Regions from separate parts of the Homo sapiens genome. Here region 1 is linked to region 2. Evidence: promoter capture Hi-C in human tissues and cell types (Jung and others, 2019). All regions are on one chromosome and are shown on one strand. The core of a region is centred on a gene start or on the middle of the fragment in contact, and the rest is flanking DNA. Distances in the headings are between cores, read along the strand shown.

What was found. The method cuts DNA at HindIII sites, captures the fragments that hold promoters and counts their contacts. A contact is called where the count stands out against the background at its distance.
Region 1: a contact is called between a fragment that was not itself captured here and the fragment with the promoter of TMEM81 in region 2, in 2 of the 25 tissues and cell types used here (dorsolateral prefrontal cortex and mesenchymal stem cells).

What each region holds. Positions count from the first base shown.
Region 1 is chr1:205,196,796-205,203,886 of GRCh38, reverse strand. The region is part of intron 1 of DSTYK (dual serine/threonine and tyrosine protein kinase); the gene reads left to right. It also overlaps the pseudogene RPL17P8. Among named protein-coding and RNA genes, the nearest start is that of DSTYK, 11 kb to the left of the region's middle. The HindIII fragment of the contact is 5,997 bases long and covers 1,083-7,079 here.
Region 2 is chr1:205,080,409-205,087,995 of GRCh38, reverse strand. TMEM81 (transmembrane protein 81) reads left to right here and starts at 3,536. Exons shown (of 1, transcript NM_203376.2): 1 at 3,536-4,867. The coding sequence starts at 3,676. The coding sequence ends at 4,443. RBBP5 (RB binding protein 5, histone lysine methyltransferase complex subunit) reads left to right here. Exons shown (of 14, transcript NM_005057.4): 14 at 1-1,854. The HindIII fragment of the contact is 3,641 bases long and covers 735-4,375 here.

The DNA.
Region 1 (7,091 bases), core at 2,832-5,331, 120 kb before region 2:
CTGGAGTGCAGTGGCATGATCTTAGCTCACTGCAACCTCTGCCTCCCGGTTCAAGCATTTCTCCTGTCTCAACCTCCCAAGTAGCTGGGGCTACAGGCACACACCACCATGCCCAGATAATTTTTGTATTTTTAGTAGAGTCAAGGTTTCACCATATTGGTCAGGCTGGTCTGGAACTCCTGACCTCAGGTGATCCACCTGCCTCGGCCTCCCAAAGCACTGGGATTACAGGCATGAGCCACCTTGCCCAGCTGGTCAGCTTGCTATTAAAAAACATTGGGAAATTCTGCCCCCTCCCTTCCCCTCCCCTCCCCTCCCCTCCCCTCCCCTCCCCTCCCCTTCCCTACCGTACCCCTCCCCTCCCCTCCCCTTCCCTACCCTACCCCTCCCCTCCCCTCTCCTTTTCTTATTTTATTTTTTGAGACAGTCTCACTCTTGTTGCCCAGGCTGGATCTTGGCTCACTGCAACCTCTGCCTCCTAGATAAAAATGATTCTCCTACCTCAGCCTCCCAAGTAGCTGGGACTGCAGGCACGCGCGAACCACACCTGGCTATTTTTTTTTTTTGGTAGAGACGGGGTTTCACCGTTTTGGCCAGGCTGATGTTGAACTCCTGGCCTCAAGTGATCTGGCCACCTTGGCCTCCCAAGGTGCTGGGATTACAGGCGTGAGCTCCCATGCCCATCCTGCCTGCTTTTAAAAGAGAAAATATTATTGCCTTTAAGCTTATTATAATTTGCAATATGTTTAGTCTTAAAAGTCATTACTGATTTCAGTATGGTTAGTTCTTCAGCCTTGCAAGTAGTTTTTACAGAAGGCATGGATTTAAATAAAAATCCAGTCTGGTTTTTATATTTTGTTTTGCTCTGTCTACTTTCTCCTTTTCTTTCTCCATGCTTCTGTTCTCTGTTTTACTAGGTTAAGAGAACAGGGAATCTTTCTCCAATAAATGCACTTCTCAAAAACAATCCTTTCAGAATAAAACCTAAAAAAAAGTTACAGAAATAAAGGGGAATATGAATTTTACCTTATACCTGTTACTCAGTTAATATAGGCTCTGCTCATACAGATTATGCCTTTATTTACTTTCTTTTCTTTCCTTTTTTTAAAAAAATATTTAATTGTATTTACTTTAAAGCTGAATTTACTCCTGTGTCATAAGTTTTTGTTTCTTCAGTTTCTTCTGGGATAACTTTTTCTTCTGGGCACCCTCCTCTTCTGGTTTAGGAACAATCTGTTCCTTTTCAGTAAGGATCATCTCAATGTGGCAGAGAGAGCTCACGTATGGGTTAATCCGACCATGAGCTCTGCAGGTCCAGCGGCGCATCTTAGGTGCTTTGTTCACTTTGATATGCCCAACGACCAGAGAATCTACATCTAAACCCTTAAGTTCAGCATTACTCTCTGCATTTTTAAGCATGTGTAGCAAAAATTCAGCAAGCTTTTTGGGCCACTGACCTTGTCCAGCCCCACTGCTTGGCCTGGGCACACCAACCAACGCAACCATTGTAATGTTGGAATGGTACATGCTGTTTCTGTAAAGTGGTAGCTTTCAGATACTTCGTGGCTTTTCGTATATGCATACCCTTGATGGCCTGAGAAGTGTCATGAGTATTCTTAAAGTGAACACGAAGATTTGAACCTCTTGATTTGCATGATTTTGTGGGGTTCTCTGGGTCAAGTGAATAGCGAACCATTTTCACGGATTACCTCAGGCCACGTAGGGGAAGAAGCCCCTTCCCCTTCCCCTTCCCCTTCCCTTCCCTTCCCCTTCTCCCTTCCCCCTCTCCCTTCCCCTTCTCCCTTTCCCCTCTCCCCTTCCCGAGTTTCCCACATTTCCTTTCCTGATGCCCAGGCTGGAGTGCAGTGGTGCAATCTTGGCTCACTGCAACCTCTGCCTCCCAAGTTCAAGCAATTCTCCTGCCTCAGCCTTCCTGAGTAGCTGGGATCACAGGCATGCACCACCACGACCGGCTAATTTTGTATTTTTAGTAGAGACAGGGTTTCACCATGTTGGTCAGGCTGGTCTCGAATTCCTGACCTCAGGTGATCCTCCCGTCTTGGCTTCCCAAAGTGCTGGCATTACCGGTGTGAACCACTGCGCCCAGCCTTTTCTTTTGTATGATAGCTGTGAGTATGTTTGTCTTAGCCTGCTGACAAGATTGTGTACCCCTAAGGGTAAAGAGTATGTTTTACTCATTTTGTACCCCCAGTAGTGCCTACCATAGTGCTTTGTACATAATGGGCAAATAAATATCTGTTAAATTATTTCCACAGCTGGTGGATATTGGAATGATGTTTTGAAATTAAATGCAATTTAATTCCTTCCTTGGAAGGGCGTTTTTTTTGGCCCCATAGAACATAAGGATTTTTGTAAATTCACACACATTTTACTCTCTGGGCCCCTAAAAAAGAACAATGATATGCATTTCATAGGTGACTAGTTAGGCTGCAGTTGCATTCTTTTTTTTTTTTTTTTTTTGCATTAAAAAAATTTTGTTTTTAATTTTGTGTGTACATAGTAGGTTTATATATTTATGGGATACCTGAGATGTTTTGATACAGGCATGCAATGTGAAATAAACACATCATGGAGAATGGGGTAGCCATCCCCTTAAACATTTATCCTTTAAGTTACAAACAATCTAATTACTTTCCTTAAGTTATTTAAAAATATACAACTGGGCCATCATGGTGGCTCATGCCTGTAATCCCAGCACTTTGGGAGGCCAAGGCGGGTGGATAACATGAGGTCAGGAGTTCGAGAGCAGCCTGACCAACATAGCGAAACCCCATCTCTACTGAAAATACAAAACTAGCCGGGTATGGTGGCACGTGCCTGTAATCCCAGCTACTCAGGAGGCTGAGGCAGGAGAACAGCTTGAACCTGGGAGGCGGAGGTTGCAGTGAGCCAAGATTGCACCATTGCACTCCAGCCTGGGCAACAAGAGTGAAACTCTGTCTCAAAAAAAAAAAAATTAAATTATTATTGACTATAGTCACCCTGTTGTGCTATCAAGTAGTAGGTGCAGTTGCATTCTGTGCCAGTATCCCAAAGAATTATTTTCATGTTCCAAAGAATGACTTGCATGCAATACCAGTAGACCTGAGCTTCACCATGATATGGGAAGTAAATTCTTAATATTCATTCACTCAGCAAACCTTTATTTAATGCCTGACTCTGTACTAGGCACAGGACACGCATTGGTGAACCACTCTGTCCAACTAACTGAGATTATTAATTCCAAATTGATGTTATGAAGGAAAAAAGGATTAGTGTTTCATCATGTCTCTCCCAGAGGATTTTCTACAAATTGGTTACCTACTTAATCATTAGTTGTCTTTGAGTGGGTAGGAGTGTAGGGCATATGGAAAATTGTAAGATTAAATGGCATTGATAAGGATAGGAGTTGAGGCCGGACGCAGTGGCTCACACCTGTAATCCCAGCACTTTGGGAGGCCGAAGTGGGCAGATCACCTGCGGTGAGGAGTTCAAGACCAACCTGGCCAACATGGCGAAACCCCATCTCGATTAAAAATACAAAAAATTGGCTGGGTGTGGTAGCTCATGCCTATAATCCCAGCACTTTGGGAGGCCAAGGTAGGTGGATCACCTGAGGTTAGTAGTTCAAGACTAGCCTGGCCAACATGGTGAAACCTTGTCCCTACTAAAAATACAAAAAATCATCTGGTCGCGGTGGTAGGCGCCTGTAATCCCAGCTACTTGGGAGGGTGAGGCAGGAGGATCTCTTGAACCCAGGAGGCGAAGTTTGCAACCAGCCGAGATTGCACCACTGCACTCCAGCCAAGGTGACAGAGCGAGACTCTGTCTCATTAAAAAAAAGAATAAGAGTTGAAATGTTCTGCCCACTTTCTGACAGTAGAGGAAAATCAGCCTATTTTCTCTTTGATGGAAAAATTATATCATCTCGTTTTTGTGGTTCAAATGCAGAATGCATTTATGAAGATTACTATTAGAGCTTCTTTCATTTCTGTCTTTCTTAGAAGTTACAGAGAAGCCGGTAGGAAAACTACGAGCTATGGGTGGATGTGGTTTTTTTGGTTATGGTTGTAAAACCTAAGGTTAATTTGCTCCTTCTTACAGGAAAATAGCCTCTAGGGATGACGGGGTTTGCTTCCTACATGGTGCAGGGAATCTGAGTAGTGTCATTCATAACAAGACTACAGAGGGCGAGTCCACGTGGGGGTGCAGTTTTTCTATTTTACCTCACAGAGCTCTGACTGGAGTGCCGTGGGAGGATGTCCAGTCTCAGTATAGGCCATTCCCAGGCTTGGAGGTTGATTCAGTTCTTTGTCACACAGGGAGTTTGGTGATCCTATGGAACCTGGAACTTGACACTTACATGACCAGAGGAGAACAGATGTAGAAATGCTTAAGATGTGTGTCTCCTTGCTTTGAGCTATAAATGAGACTCTCTGAGAAAGTTCCCTTATGCGTAATGTTCCTCCAAAGTCCAAACCAAAACTCTTGGAGGGAAAGTTGGTCAGAGCATGGAGACTCATCAGTATCCCCTGTGGGTTCTGGTTGAAGTGCCCATCACAGGCAGTGTGTTTTTCTATTTTCTTCTCTAGGCAGTGTGAGCAGTTTGGATATATTCCCCAGCTGTGTGCCACGTGGCTGTGGGAACCTTTTGACCACCGCTTTCTTTGGAGTTGGGCTTTATTATAACATGCTTCCATTCCCTGAGGTGGTGTGCTCTGGGCAGGATGATGGGAGTAGGACTTGAGGATTGTTTTGCTTTTCACTTGTCTAACTAATGATACATCAGAATTGTCCCAAATAATTATGTCTAGGTTATATATTTATAAAAGCCTTTGATTTTTTAAAAAAATTCCACTTATTTTAAAAAAGTACTTTCATCCTCAAAGTGTCTAACTTTAGTTTCATCAGATTAAGAGCTTTAGTGCCTGGGAGGCTGAGGCAGAAGAATCGCCTGAACCTGGGAGGCAGAGATTGAAGTGAGTCGAGATCGCGCCACCACACTCCAGCCTGGCGACAGAGCGAGGCTCCATCTCAAAAAAAAAAAAAAAAGCTTTAGTGCCTTATTTATGCCAGACAAATTTCAGTTTAGATCTTTTTTTTAATATTTTCTAGTCTATTTAATGGGGAGAGAATTTCCCAGGGTTTTTTTGTTTTTGTTTTTTTTAAATCAAGTCAAACTTGCCAGAGCAAAGACTAAGGCCCTATCACAAATGCAGCTAGGTTACAAGACTATTTTAAATAAAAGCTCTTTCTATTCAAATGAGAGGGACAGTGAGAATGAACCAGTATGGAGTTTACGTTTTAGGAATATTCCATATGATATACTCTAGCCTTAGCGTTTAATATTATGGCGATATCTAGGTGCAAGGAGGAATGTGGGGGAATATAGCTAGTAAAGAAAAGTCATTCTTATTTTTTAGTATATAAGAACCCCACTGAGGAAACCTCTTTCACTTTCTCCTGATTGAACAACTGACATGCTCTTCTGGTTCTGTCCCATGGAGAGAATTGGAAAAGTTTTGCTGCTTTAACTTGGAAAAGTGGTTTGTTGGTATAGGATAAAAGTAGTTAGTGTATAATGGCAATATAGTCTCTACCACTAATAAACATAAGGGGCCACTACAGGCAGTGCAAAATCAAAGTCAAGCTTCCTCTGTTGGTTTCTTTCTTTCTTTCTTTCTTTTTTTTTTGAGACGGAGTTTCACTCTTGTTGCCCAGGCTGGAGTACAATGGCGTGATCTTGGCTCACCGCAGCCTCCACCTCCCGGGTTCAAGCGATTCTTCTGCCTCAGCCTACCGAGTAGCTGGGATTACAGGCATGTGCCACCACGCCCAGCTAATTCTGTATTTTTAATAGAGACGGGGTTTCTCCATGATGGTCAGGCTGGTCTCAAACTCCCGACCTCAGGTGATCCGCCCGCCTCAGCCTCCCAAAGTGCTGGGATTACAGGCATGAGCCATCACGCCCGGCCTTCGTGGTTTCTTATTTAATGAACCTGATGGTTACAGGTAACTTTCATCAGACTGTTCTATACTGGAGCATCATGTTGGTCTATACTGCTTAGACTTGTGGATTTGGATTCTAAGTCTGATCCTAAACTACTTGCTTAGATCAGTGCCTTGAACTCCCCAGACTCTGAACAAGCAATAGTAAACATCACAGGAAGATTGATGGGATGGAAGGTAATGTGCAGGGCAAAAGTGGAGACAGTGAAGAAACTGTTGTTGTTCAAATCCTGTTATTGCTGTATTTGATGTATTTTTTTTTTTTCCGGCTGGTTTTTCTTGTCAAGTAAAATCCTATCTCTTGATCTCTTTCCTCTGAGATCAAGAGCTGGATACGCTTTGCTAGGTATATATTTGGATCCTAAAAAAATTATTTTGAAATAATTTCAAACATACGTAAGTGTTGCGAGAACAATAAAAGAGTTCCAATACCTGCTTCATGCAAATTTTCTAGTTGTTAACATTTTCATGGATTTGTTCCATCACCCAGTCTCTCTCCTTCCTGATCTATATTAGATGTAGCCTTTTTCTGAACCTTTTGAGAGCTGAGTGCAGTTAGGTTTTCTCATCTCCTCTAAACACTCCAGTATGCATTCCTCCCAAACAAGGATGTGCTTCTATGATCACCATACAGCTCGCCAAATCAAGAAATTAACATGGGTTCAGTACTACCATCCAGTCCACAGACCCTGTTCAGGTTTTGCCAACTGTCCCAACAATGTCTCCTTTTTTTTTTTTTCCTTTCATCACAGGGTATATGACGTTAACCCATCCCTGGAGATGTTTTCTCCACCTTAAATTCACCAGTTTTAGGGCCAGGCGCAGTGGCTCATGCCTGTAATCCCAGCACTTTGGGAGGCCATGGCGGGTGGATCACCTGAAATCAGGAGTTCAAGACCAGCCTGGCCACTATGGTGAAACCCCATCTCTACTAAAAATACAAAAAAAAAAATTAGCCAGGCATGGTGGTGCATGCTTGTAATCCCTGCTACTTGGGAGGCTGAGGCAGGAGAATTGCTCGAACCCGGAAGGCTGCAGTGAGCTGAGATCATGCCATTGTACTCCAGCTTGGGCAACAAGAA
Region 2 (7,587 bases), core at 2,287-4,786:
ACAAACCCAGGTGTCTCTCAACAAGCTACTTTTTTACTGGGGTGGGGGAATCTATGCAAGGAGTAAAGTAAAACCATCCAGAATCAAAGCAGCAACCACATAGTTCAAATCAAAGATCAAGGTGAATTTTTTGTATCACTGCCTGTGGAAATCTATCCTCATCAGTCATTGCATTTTTCCCTGCCTATACCTGTGCTCCTTTTTCTTACTGTGTTTTCAGTCACTTCCTTTCTGTGAAAGGTTGCTTAGCTTTTTTTTTGACATTTGTTGTTCTTTATAAAAATAACAGATTGGATAGATGTGTACATTTGGTGTTTGAAATTCTCTGAAAATCCCATTAGGAAACCAGGTGTGAAAAGGGCTCAGTAGCTTCTCTGAGTGGCGTTTTTAGCTGACTGGAAGTGCTTAATCTGGATCGTCTTTTTTTTTTTTTTTTTTTTTTCAATATTTTAAAAGGAGAATTTAAATACTGTGCTTACTGTGAAATATATCAGTTGGTGAGCCGGGCGTGGTGGGTCACGCCTGTAATCCCAGCACTTTGGGAGGCCAAGGCGGGTTGATCACCCGAGGTCAGGAGTTCAAGACCAGCCTGGCCAACGTGGTGAAAGCCTGTATCTATTAAAAGACAAAAATTAGCTGGGCGTGGTAGTACATGCCTGTAATCCCAGCTACACTGGAGGCTGAGTCAGGAGAATCACTTGAACGTGGGAGGCAGAGGTTGCAGTGAGTGGAGATCGCACCACTGCCCTCCAGCCTAGGTGACAGAATGAGACTCTATCTCAAAAAAAAAAAAAAAATGATATCAGTTGGTGGATGCTCCTATAGGTAGCCAAACACATTGATTACCTGTTAGATTTTAGGATAGAAATCAAAGTAGAGCACGTCAGCAAGAGCCTCTTTGTCTCACTCCATCATTTAAAACCAGTATATTCAGTAGTTGAAGAAAGAGCTCTCCCTGAGTCAGTTGCAAAACGTCTATATTTTTAGATGCCACTACTTTTTTCTTAAATATTCATTTTGAGACTGTCATGAGTTAGACCAGTGGTTGAGATTAGTAGATGGCTCACTAGACATGTTTTTGTTTTGCAGACATTATATCCATTCCAGTCCTCTGCACTGTACACTGCAGCAGTGTGCAAACTATGGGACTTAGAGGGTTTCTGCCATCTTTCCACGTGTGAAGTAGCTTGGTTTCCTCTGCCTGTGCATTTGGATGTTTGTGCTATGTCCACCTCCTAAACTGGCTACTGAGAAAATCATCTTCAGCCCTGTCAGATTGTCTCTGGCAGTAGCTCCTAATAATTATTTATGTTTTTGGAATTTTTTTTTCAACTTTTAAAAAACCTTCTATCCATTTCAATTTGAATTATTTGATTTGTACAATATATGTATATTCTCTTCTTCCTTTTTGTCATCCCTGCCCTGCCACCCCCAAAATTTTGTTTTTAAAAATATTCTGGGCTGGGCATGGTGGCTCACACCTGTAATCCCAGCACTTGGGGAGGCCGAGGCTGGTGGATCATCTGAGGTCAGGTGTTTGAGACCAGCCTGGTCAACATGGTGAAACCCCGTCTCTACTAAAAATACAAAAATTAGCTGGGCGTGGTGGCGGGCACCTGTAATCCTAGCTACTCGGGAGGCTGAGGCAGGAGAATTGCTTGAATCCAGGAGGCAGAGGTTGCAGTGAGCTGAGATTGCGCCACTGCACTCCAGCCTGGGTGACAGAGCAAGACTCCATCTCAAAAAAAAAAAAAAAAAAAAATCTGTAGTTTTGTACAAGATGAGACTTAGCCTTGGGTACTTCTTGCTGAAGCTTTAATGCTTTGTAAATAAAATCGGATGTTTATTAAAGAACAGGTGTAGATGTTTATTTGTAAACACTGCTCACTTCTGGAACTCTCTGGCCACTTTGCTTTAGTACAAAGGAAAGTGTGATTTCCTGTGTTGATACTAGATCTTTCAGTGTGGAAAGATAGATCTGGAAGGGGTAGGGAGTGGACAGGTAGTCTAGATTTCTGCCTCTAGATGAGATTGTAAATAAATGATGCAAGTGGAAAAGTTGTTGATCAAAAAGATCATCTAGGAATGATCTGTCTTCCAATTATTTAACTCAATATAGTTTTGCAATTACTCTGAAGAGGCCGTAGGGCTAGGCATTCTGGAGGTTACAAAAATGCATGCTAGGAAGTTCCTGTCTTCCAAGGACCTTTCTTCAAGTCTAAGTAAGTACGGTTGAATTCTTATTAGCCTTTTTTTTTTTTTGAATGAAGCAGCTTTAAAATTTATTAAATGCTCGTTGTCTCCTAAAGATAAGATGTTTCACAAAGTCTATGTAAGTCTTTGATTTTAATGTCAAATTTGAGGGTCTACTTATTAATCTTATGTGATTGAGAACTCCATCTTTGACATCATAGCTGTTTCATAGCAACCTTGACCTACGTGAATAATGAGCTCTATTCTGTAGGATAAAGGGAGTAGGCCAAGAGTCAGGGAGCATCATGCATCCTCTCACTCAAAATATATCTTCAGTATCCTTGGGAAGGAAGAGTGCCTAAAAGGGGGAGAGGAGCTGCCTTTAACACAACCTTAAACATTCTGATTTGAAAAGGTCATCTTGGCCCTTGTCTTTATGAATTTCCATTTCTATTTAAAATTCCTTACACATTGAACAGTGTTTCACACTTTACAAAGTGTTCTCACATACAGTATATCATTCAGTGCTCTAAGTGACCTTCCTCAGATAGGCAAGGAGGTCTTAAGTTACAAAGGAGGAAACAGAAATTCAGGAAGGGTAAGTTACTTGCCTCCTAGTCCAGAGTTCTTAATCCTTTTTATAGGAAGTTTAGGAACATTAAAATAATTCAAGTTAATCTTCCTTTTTTTAGACTTTAGTATTTGTTTTATTTGGTGACATTTAACTGGGGCTTTTGAAACCCTTAATTTAGATCCTAGTTTATAGAGGGGAAGGGGAAGGGTGAGGAAGAGTGTAACTTCACTATGCATTTGAGGTAATCTGGAAATTTACTTCAGTTTCTGAAGTCTTTTCTTCTTTGTCTTCCCAAGAGGTGGATTTAAAGTCATTAAGAGAACACGAAAACGGCCAGCGCGGTGGCTCATGCCTGTAATCCCAGCACTTTGGGGGGCTGAGGTGGGTGAATTGCTTGAACCCAGGAGTTGGAGACAAGCCTCGACAACATGGTGAAACCCCGTATCTACAAAAAATAGAAAAATTAGCCAGGTGTGATAGCCTGCACCTGTAGTCCCAGCTACCTAGGAGGCTGAGGTGGCAGGATCACTTGAGCCTAGGAGGTTGAGGCTGCAGTGAGCTGTGATCATGTTACTGCACTCCAGCCTGGGTTGACAGTGAGGCCCTGCCTCAAAAAAAAAAAAAAAAAAAAAAAGCGTGAAGACTAGTAGGTAAGGTGGTTATTTTATTAACAACGATAGTTAGTAAAGCAACACCATTGTGATTTTTTTCCTGCCTTGTGGCCTCACCTGTTTATAAGGACTGGACTTTTATTTATTAAGTTGTGTTGTTTTATTGACAATACATGCATCATATCTTTTGACTTTGAAGGATATCTCATGTCAAAGGAATCAAGTTATGATTTATAGAGGATTCAGCTGGAATACCTTGTGGGTGCTGGCTGAGGGTGGCAAAACGCCTACCGAGACATGAAGGTTTTAGCCACTAGTTTTGTCCTTGGGAGCCTGGGGTTGGCCTTCTACCTGCCTTTGGTGGTGACTACACCTAAAACACTGGCCATCCCTGAGAAGCTGCAAGAAGCTGTGGGGAAAGTTATCATCAATGCCACAACCTGTACTGTCACCTGTGGCCTTGGCTATAAGGAGGAGACCGTCTGTGAGGTGGGCCCTGATGGAGTGAGAAGGAAATGTCAGACTCGGCGCTTAGAATGTCTGACCAACTGGATCTGTGGGATGCTCCATTTCACCATTCTCATTGGCAAGGAATTTGAGCTTAGCTGTCTGAGTTCAGACATCTTGGAGTTTGGACAGGAAGCTTTCCGGTTCACCTGGAGACTTGCTCGAGGTGTCATCTCCACTGACGATGAGGTCTTCAAACCCTTTCAAGCCAACTCCCACTTTGTGAAGTTTAAATATGCTCAGGAGTATGACTCTGGGACATATCGCTGTGATGTGCAGCTGGTAAAAAACTTGAGACTCGTCAAGAGGCTCTATTTTGGGTTGAGGGTCCTTCCTCCTAACTTGGTGAATCTGAATTTCCATCAGTCACTTACTGAGGATCAGAAGTTAATAGATGAGGGATTGGAAGTTAATCTGGACAGCTACTCCAAGCCTCACCACCCAAAGTGGAAAAAGAAGGTGGCGTCAGCCTTGGGAATAGGAATTGCCATTGGAGTGGTTGGTGGCGTGTTGGTGAGGATTGTCCTCTGTGCGCTAAGGGGGGGCCTGCAGCAGTGACAGCTTCAAGAACTTAACAGCCTTGCTCCTGAAGAACTGGCTGCCCAGGAAGCCAAGCTAGCTTTTTAGGGGAGTGTTCCAGCTGCTGGTAGTGGATCAGCTTAGAGGGAACACTCCCACAGCCAAAAGAATGAGTGGGAGAAATGGAGGGGACAATCTCCTGGGAGCTATGCGCAGTAACCTAACTTCCTTATGTCCCATGGATCTCTTCCTGATCTTCCCTGCCCATTGGGTACCCAGGAAACTGCAAGCATTGCCTGTGTTCCTGGGAAGAGTTCTAAGAAGCTTGCATTCATTTTCTACCCTTTATGACTTGGATGCCTCCCCACCTCCATTTCCCCTCTTCTGAGCTGTGTATTCATGTAGAGGGATGTATTCAGCCTTTTTAGTGAACATTTTTTTTCAATAAAAGTAATTCACAGTAGCTGTATGGAGACCTTTTTCTGCTCTTCAGTTTCTTGTATTTATTTAAATTGTCCCATAATCAGTCTGGCTTCATTTTCCTCAGGTTTCTTAGAATAGACATTAAACCAATTGTCTGCTTTTGGGGGCAGGGGGTGCAGTGCATAAGCCTATGGCAGGGGTTGTTAGTAATGACATCCAACTCAGGTGTGTAACAGTCACTAAATATTAACAAATTGCCTGTTCTGCCCAGGTAAATCCCCTGTTTGGTATTAAATTGAATTTCTTGGCAAAACACTAGATCCTTCACCTGGTAGGTTTCCTCTTACCATTCAGACAGCACCTTGGCTTGCCTCCACTCCAGTCCTTTTAGCTCTTTCAGTGCCCTGAAGCTTCTATTCCTGGGAGGGTCAAGTATTGGTTTCTTACAGCAGCCAAGGCCCCCAAAGGAGGATTAGTACTTTGATTCCTCCATAGGAAATCCAGTCTTAAGACTCCGAGGCCATTCGGACCGTGTCTGAGATAATTGGCTTGTGGAACCATCAGGGAAAGACTCTTGGCCACCAGCTGAGCTAATTCTACTGAGAGAATTACAACATTTCTTCCTCTCACTTTTCTCTGACTACAGGAGGTAGCAGAAACCAAAGACCAGCGATTCTCTAGATGTGTGTTAGAATCATCTGGATGACCTTGTGAAAAATAAAGGTTCTTGAGCTCTAATCCTGACAATGCTAATTCAGTTTAAATTATGGTCAAAGGATCTCTATTATTTATTTTACTTTTAACTTGTAAAAATTTCAAACCCATAGAAAAGCTGAAAGAAATGTTTGGTGACCATGCATAGAACCTTTACCAAAATTCACCAGGAATTAACATTTTGTCACAATTATCTTTCTCAATATAGATTGATTTTGTTAAACCATTTGAAAGCTAGTCACAGACATTGCAACTCTTAACTCTTAAACCATGTATGCATCTCCTAATAAGGATGTTCTCTGTAACCACAATATCTTTATCACACTAAGAAAATTAACAATTTCTGGCCAGGCGCGGTGGCTCACGCCTGTAATCCCAGCACTTTGGGAGGACGAGGCGGGCAGATCACGAAGTCAGGAGATCGAGACCATCCCGGCTAACACGGTGAAACCCCGTCTCTACTGAAAGTACCAAAAATCAGCCTGGTGTGGTAGCGGGCGCCTGTAGTCCCAGCTACTCGGGAGGCTGAGGCAGGAGAATAGTGTGAACCCAGGAGGCGGAGCTTGCAGTGAGCTGAGATTGCGCCACTGCACTCCAGCCTGGGCGACAGTGCAAGACTCTGTCTCAAAAACAACAACAAAAAATTAACAATTTCTTTCTTTTCTTTTTTTTTTTTGAGACGGAGTTTTGTTCTTGTAGCCCAGGCTGGAGTGCAATGGTGTGATCTCAGCTCACTGTAACCTCTGCCTCCTAGGTTCAAGTGATTTTCCTGCCTCAGCCTCCTGAGTAGCTGGGATTACAGGTGCCTGCCACCATGCCTGGCTAATTTTTTTGTATTTTTAGTAGAGACGGGGTTTCGCCATGTTGGCCAGCCTGGTCAAACTCCTGACCTCAGATGATCCACCTGCCTCGGCCTCCCAAAGTGCTGGGATTACAGGTGTGAACCACTGGACCTGGCCAAAATTTAACAATTTCTTAATCTTATATAGTTTATACAAGTTGAGCATCCCAAGTATGAAAACCTGAAATCTGTAATGCTCCAAAACTTGAAACTTTTTGAGTACCAACATGGTGCTCAAAGGAAATGCTTATTGGAAGAGCTTAGATTTCGGATTTCTTGGATTTGGGATGCTTAACCTATAAGTATAATGCAAAGATGCCAAAATCTGAAAAAGTCTGAAATCTGGAACATGTCTGGTCCCAAACATTTTGGATAAGGGATACTCAGCCTGTATTCACTTCTCAATATCCAAAATCTTAACAGCTTTTTAATTTCATTTTTGATCCAGGATCAAATAGAAGTTCATGTGTTATGTTTCTCTTAAGTATCTTCTTTTACAACAGACCTCCTGCATTCCTTTGTCTTTCATGACATTGATTTCGTTGAATAATTTACTCCAGTTGTCTTAGATAAGATTCCATAATTTGTATTTGCCATTTCCTCATGAGTAGATTCATGAGGAATGAATCTTAAACATTTTTGACAAGAGCCCTATGTAGATATGTACTTAACTGCACCACATTACAAGGCTCATGTTTTTGTTTATGTTTTTGTTTTTTGAGATGGAGTCTTACTGTATCATCCAGACTAGAGTGCAGTGGTGCAATCTCGGCTCACTGTAACCTCTGCCTCCCGGGTTCAAGTGATTCTGATGCCTCAGCCTCCTGAGTAGCTGGGACTATAGGCATGTGCCACCACGCCTATAGATGGGGTTTCACCATGTTGGCCAGGCTGGTCTCAAACTCTTGACCTCAGGTGATCCGCCCACCTCGGCCTGTCAAAATGTTGGGATTACAAGCGTGAGCCACCGCGCCCAGCCAAGGTTGACCCACTATTGATAATAAGCTTGATCATTTGGTTAAGGTGGTGGATGGCCAGATCTCACCACCAATGTGTGTGTGTGTGTGTGTGTGTGTGTGTGTGTGTGTATTTTCCCCTTTGTAATTCATAGTCTGTGGGGTAATACTTTATGATTATATGGCTCTCCAAAAACTCTTCACATATTTTGGCATCCATTGTTTTTGCCTTGTTGAACATTACATGTT